Linked DNA regions of Homo sapiens: region 1 is linked to region 2. The links are contacts of gene promoters, found by promoter capture Hi-C in human tissues and cell types (Jung and others, 2019). All regions are on one chromosome and are shown on one strand. Each heading gives the region's core, a stretch centred on a gene start or on the middle of the fragment in contact. The rest is flanking DNA. Distances are from core to core; before and after follow the strand shown.

The links. The method cuts DNA at HindIII sites, captures the fragments that hold promoters and counts their contacts. A contact is called where the count stands out against the background at its distance.
Region 1: a contact is called between a fragment that was not itself captured here and the fragment with the promoter of STK32B in region 2, in 2 of the 25 tissues and cell types used here (IMR-90 fibroblasts and hippocampus).

What each region holds. Positions count from the first base shown.
Region 1 is chr4:4,489,613-4,492,939 of GRCh38, forward strand. The region is part of intron 1 of STX18 (syntaxin 18); the gene reads right to left. Among named protein-coding and RNA genes, the nearest start is that of STX18-IT1, 9.6 kb to the left of the region's middle. RefSeq lists an enhancer at 509-688. The HindIII fragment of the contact is 6,423 bases long and covers 1-3,327 here.
Region 2 is chr4:5,050,204-5,053,202 of GRCh38, forward strand. It overlaps STK32B (serine/threonine kinase 32B), which reads left to right and starts at 1,277. Exons shown (of 12, transcript NM_018401.3): 1 at 1,277-1,712. The coding sequence starts at 1,661. RefSeq lists an enhancer at 1,979-2,517. The HindIII fragment of the contact is 7,679 bases long and covers 1-2,999 here.

The DNA.
Region 1 (3,327 bases), core at 437-2,936, 560 kb before region 2:
ATGAAAAGGTAAAACTTAGTGGTTTCTAGAATTTAAAGAAACTAGCAAATTGCCAACAGCTTAGTTTTACAAAATGAGGGCTCAACTGCTAAAAATGGATTGCTCCTTAAGTGTACAAAGTAACACAAAATAATCACTCCGTAACATAACATTTGCCGGAAAAAAATGTGTGAAAACTACTAGAAAAATAATAGTTAGGTCCTGAGCAGTATATTAAAGATCTTGATTTTGAGACTCAAATTATATCTTTTCATTCTACATGAGTTCTTACTTTCTTTGGACAAAAAATTTAAGGTCCTGTATCTGAATTCAGCTCAGTGTGAAAGCTTTAAATGTAAAACTAGTATATGCAATTTAAATCCCCTTTAACAGTTTTTCAGACAATTAATTAGGTAAAGCATTTGAAACACCATACATACAAAAAATTTTCATTCATATTGCAATGAATTTCACTCAAAATCACATATCGAACTGTAATAAATTTACAATAAAAATGTAACACTAACTGCCCCCCACAAATACATATACACTTTTAAGAGATACACAGTCATGTACCTAAGAAAGGAAAGTAAAACTTGACAATGTTCAAGAAATCTTTCGAAAGCTCTACAGCATTAGTCAGCATTATCTGATCAAATATTAGCATGACCACTATTTTCAAAAGGGCCCATATGTAACAATAGCCAAAGGGGCATCTTCCTAAACTTACAGTATTACTCTAATAGAACAGACAAATTTCCTTAAGAATTGGAGTTGTACTGAACACAAAATGCCGATTTGCAATTATGAGGTCAATCTCATAACAATGAGATTTAAAACAAATTTCAGATTACGGTTTTAAATTTCTATTCATTCTCTATACAGTGGTATATTTCAATAATTACATAAACTGAAACGTTTTCCCTCCTATTTTTTCTCCAAAAGGTTCTCTACAGATGCTTACTTCGTAAAATGCAGCTTAAAATTTATTGGAAACTAAGAATTTTTTTACATGGAATCTATAAATACATGCATAATTTCTGTGCCCATAATTGGAAAAGGGCACAGAGGCTCCTATAACAATCACTAAGGAAGCTCTTAAAAACAAAAAACTTCATCCATGTTCAGGCTGAAGAATTCACATTTAACCTTTATTTTAAATTACAGCCAAAGTCTTTGTTTCAAATCCACATAAATCACTGTTCTTCTCTCTGCAAATACATTTTAGAGAAAACATTATTTAATGTTACATCTGACTTTAATAGAGTTTCCCATTTGCTTTTGCATGTTTATTATCAAACTCTAATCATGACATTTCCAAACTTATTTATACTTTCACACAAACTTCCGAAGTTTTCCCAACTTAAATAAAAACCCACAAAAACTGTGGGAAATGTTTTGCTTGAAAGATAAAAGCAACGTGGTCCAAATGTACATTTGTAATAATCAGTGTTTACTTTTGTTGTTCAAACATTCGGCTTATAGCACTTTCAATATACGCATTCAACTTAATTTTCTTGTCTCTTAAAAAAAAAAAAAGAAGGAAAGTGTTTTCTTTCCCTGTTTTGCTCTCAAAATATAAACTCATTTAATGCAAAGCATTCCCGGATCAGGCATGTTTTAAACTACGAGCACGTCTAGCCTCAACAGCATTCATCCATATTATATACAAAATGCCATTTCTTTCAAAACTTCAGTCTGGACATTTTATAAATCTAATTTCACTTTTCCTAAAAACATGAGGATATTTTACTATATAAGGCTCAATTAAAGTTTTAGTAAATAAAAATAACAAAAGAAATGATACCATAATACTAACGTAGGAAAAAGGATATATATTAATTTCATTTACTGAAAACGTTGAGGGTTTTTTCCTTGAAGTGTCTCTACTATAGATTTTACACTACATTTATTAAAATATGACAAACCTTTAACCTGGGAACAATTTACCAGTTAACATCATCTACCGAAAGAGGAAGTATACTTTGGGTAAGTAAGACACTGGAAACGATTTATGCTGCCTTTTTTCAAAGCTGCTTAGAAAATGGCTATGTACTTTTAAAAAATAATCATTAAAAACAGTCTAACGGTTGTCTTGTGATATCGTTGATCACAAGCCTAGTGATGCCACCTAATTCTAAAGACTGAAATGTGCCTCTCAAAGGGATCTAGCGCAGCCACAGTGTAATATACGTTAAAGGTAATGAAACTAAAAAGTAAGATTTCCTAATAGAATGAACATATTTTAAAGTTTTTATGATTGACAAAAGACTTCTTTTTTTAGCCATTAAAAAACTAAAAGTATCCTGACAAGAGATTCTGGTTTTGAAGTATGTCACACTCCGGTTACCCAGCCATGAATCTCAGTTCATTTTTTAAAATGAGGTCTATTTCCTGTAATTTTAGATATTTTAGAGTACAATTATTTTACATTTTTATGATGCCTTTGGGGTATCATTACAAATATTTTTATGTGTTTAAACTTAGGAAAGAAAAATTAAGTAATAGCTTCTCTTATAGGGAGCTGTCAACTCTCTCCTGGACAAAAATCTTTGTTTTAAAGCAATCTAGAGATTTATATCCCTAGTAACCATAGAAATTAATCTTAAGCTTTAGAAAAAAATTGCATAAAATGCTCTTTATTTAATTAAAATCAGAGCTCATTCTTAGAAATAAGAACCTTCTTTCGAACAGAAAGAATTTTCCACAGAGTATAGGTGGTACTCTTTGTGATAAATGAATCACGCACATTTAATTGACTTTTGAATTGTGTGCATAGAAAGTTAAGTACTTTGTTGGAAAGGATTCGCTCAGGGACTATATTCACTGAAAACTTTTCATAAGAAAAGAAAGTGAAACACAGGATTCAAACAGTGTTTGTAGATTATCTGAGTGTGAGCAAGAAAAAAAGCATAAAGAAAAGCATTTGACAATAACAATTAGGAGAATCACTCATGGGGAGGTCACTTTGTTTTTATTAGGAAACTGAAAATATTTTTCAGCGTGCCTTAGTATGACGATGCATCAACACATCATAAATCAAATTTCATTTTGTGATGACTATCACTTTCTATTTCACATGCATTAAAAAAGAGACATGTTCTGAATTCTGCTTATCACCATATGACTAAGAAGTTTATTTCAGATTTAGAAACCAGTCGAGGATGTCTGGGGCAGTCAACAATGCTCTGCTTAGCCACTCTCTTCCCTAGTAGTCTGAAAAAAATGTGTGCATTTAAGAGATGGTAATAACAAACTCCTCAAATATTTTTAAAATGTCAAAGTTTTTAAGGCTTATAAAATTCAGATTCTGGGCAAATCTGTGTACTTCCAAATTTAACTTACATG
Region 2 (2,999 bases), core at 27-2,526:
TATGCCGGGCACTGTTGCCTGCTTTTATAAATATTACCTGATATAATTCTCACAGACAACCCAAGGAGTTAATATCAATCAGCCCACTTTGCAGATAAGAACTCCAAAGTGGGACACATTGCCAGTAAATGGTAGAGCCAGCTCTGGGTCATGGTGGGTGGGCCTGCCTCAGACCTTCTCAGTTCTTTCCCACTGCCTTTAAGAGATTTTTTGTTTTGTTTTGTTTTGTTTTGTTTCTGTATGAGTCTCCCCGGCTTCCCTCACCCTTCTCCCAAGAAAAAGAAAGAAGGGGAGAGAACTGGAGAGAGAGACCAGGTAGGGGACGGGGACTGGGGGACGAGATAGGATGGAGAGAGTCACAAAGAACCCCTGCTTTCTATCAAAGCACGGACAGTGGTTCCAGGCGCCCAGCAGATGGCAGGATGTAGCCAAAGATTCCCTGCAGTCCCGGAGAGCTGGGCCCGCAGGACTGCAAGGCAGGGGGACCTGCCTGTCCCTCAGGGAGCGTCCTGGGAACCCGCGCTCGCCCCACACGTCTTGGGGCGCATCTGCCGCACCCCTTACTTAGGCACCCGCAACTGTGGCGCGTATCTCCCGATCCAGGCTCCCGCCGCAGGAGCCCAGGGACCCTCATGCTAGCCTCGCCCCTAAATCGGACGCCGATGCCGCCCAATTTTGGGGGAATCCCGAGACTCATGCCCAGCCATTCCCAGGGAGAATGGTTTGGGGCAAACTATGGCTGTCTGGGGCCTCAGTTTCCCCATGTACAATGAAGGGGTCAGATTAGTATCTAATCTTAAGGGGTCAGAAAGTAAACAGATACTTTCATTCATTAAACACTGAGAAAAACCTTAAGAGGAACAGCGTCGGTTGGAGAGCCAGCAGACACTCCACTGCCCATCCCAATATGAATGGGCAAATACAGGCTAGCGGGGAGTCCTGGGACTCCCTTCGCAGCCGGGGCCGACTAACCACAGACCTAAGAGCCCCTCTACCTCTAGACCTCCGTCTACTGCGCTCTAAAATATGAACGATGCTTTCTTACTGCTGGGTTGTCGGAGGCGGATGTGGGATGGTGCTAACAAAGCGCGTAGCCGAGGCCTGGCCATAGTGGGTGCTGACAAACCGCTTACTGCCTGCAGGGACCGAGCTCCCGGCCGAGGGAGGAGGGCCGAGCAGGGATTCAGATTCTTCCGGGCCGATCCCTTTCTCAGCTCCTTCCGCCCTGCCGCCGCCCACTGCGTGCTGCCTTCGTCCGTCCCCTCCTCCCCCGCTCCTTCCCCTCCTTCCCCTGCTCCCGCGCCGCCTCGCGTCTCCCGCCCGCTGTAGCCGGCGAGGAGCGCCGCACGTTGGCCCCGGCGCGAGGAGCTCCCGGGTTCCCGGGCGGGCACTGGAGTAAGGAGCTGCGAGCGCAGCCCGAGGCGGGGCACGGCGGAAGGCGCGGCGAGAGCGGGGTCCCTGCGAGCGCAGTCGGAAGGGCGTCCAGGAGAAGGGGGACGCCGTCCCCGCCCCTGCACGGTGCTCGGCCCCCTCGGGCTCCGCGCGCGGCTACAACCCGGACTGGGCGCGCCCCCGGCATCCCGCATCTCTGCGCGCGTCCCACATCCCGCATCCGGCATCCCAGCGGCCGGGCATGTAGCAGCGGCAGCAACGGCGGAATATGGGCGGGAACCACTCCCACAAGCCCCCCGTGTTTGACGAGAATGAGGAAGGTAAGAGAGCGAGAGGTGCGAATTCCCGCTTCGCGGGGCATCCCCTTCCTCCACCACCCTCGGCCGAGCCCTGCGGGGCACCGCATGCTGCCCGGCGCGGGGACCCAGGCATGGCCACTTCGCCCAGCGAATGCAGTGTGTGCCCGACCCGTGCCAGGCGCGGCGCTTCTGCTGAGGCAACTCCTAGGTACCCAGTGCCGTTTAGTAGTCGGGACGGTGCCTAGCGCGGGACTGGGGAGGCGGCTTCAGAGAGTTGAACCCGAAACCTGCACTTGGGGGTGTGGAAGGGAGGAGTTGACTTCGGAGGCCAGTCGGGATGGTTCTAGGCTCGGGCTCCCCAGGAAACCGAGGTTTCCTTGAGAGCCTGAGGCTGACGGAGGTGGCCTGGAAGGGCGGGTTGCACCGTGTGTCTGTGTGTGTGTGCGCGTGCCCACGACGCATTTGGTCTCGTGCAAGGGCCTGTTGGATGCAGCTCTCCTCAATCACCCAGGACAGAGGGAAACTTTTCTTTGCTAAACTCTGTGGTTCCTAGGAGGGCGTCCTGTTCTGGGCAGCCTCCCCCTGGCGCAGAAGTGGTGTAGGCTGTCCAACCGCATCTCAACTTCCTGGCTGGATCCTTGCGGTTCAGGTCGATAGAGCTCCCTATTTGGACTAGCAGAACCCTCTTTCCAGTGCAGCGTGTCCCTGGAAAACTTACTTCACCTCTCTGAAACATTAGTCCCTTCATCAATGAAATGTGAGTTATGATACCACTAGCTACTTTATAGGGTTGTTTGAAGCTTAACCACTAGTAATCCACGTGAAAAGTGCCTTATAAATGCAAGCAGTACCGAGCTGTGCCGTTTTTTATGTTAAGAGCCCTCTGCCTCTCAAAGCTGGTTTCCTACTGTGCTGACTCGCCAGTCTCCACTGTGCCCCAGGTAAGAGCTGAGACATACTGAGCACTTACTATGTTCCAGCCATGCTAGCACATAGTGTTCACTCCATCCTTTTCATGCCCCTTGAGGTGGCTACCTTAGAAAGGGGTCTGTCCTGGTTACTGCTGGTAAGAAGTAGAGCTGGGCTTGAGGCAGGACAGTCTGCTTTGAAAGCTGTGCCTGTCATCATTACCCAGGGCACTGGCTGTGTGCGTACATCATGGATGGCTTCTAGAACTCCCAAGGCTGTGAGTGCTACTCAGATGCCTGCCTGGACAGCCCTTCTCAAAAAGATAGATGAACACAGTCAAGGTTAAGTGAGCACCTGCTGTGTCAGGCCCACGAGAGCCTTCCTTAAAGGAGTTCCTAG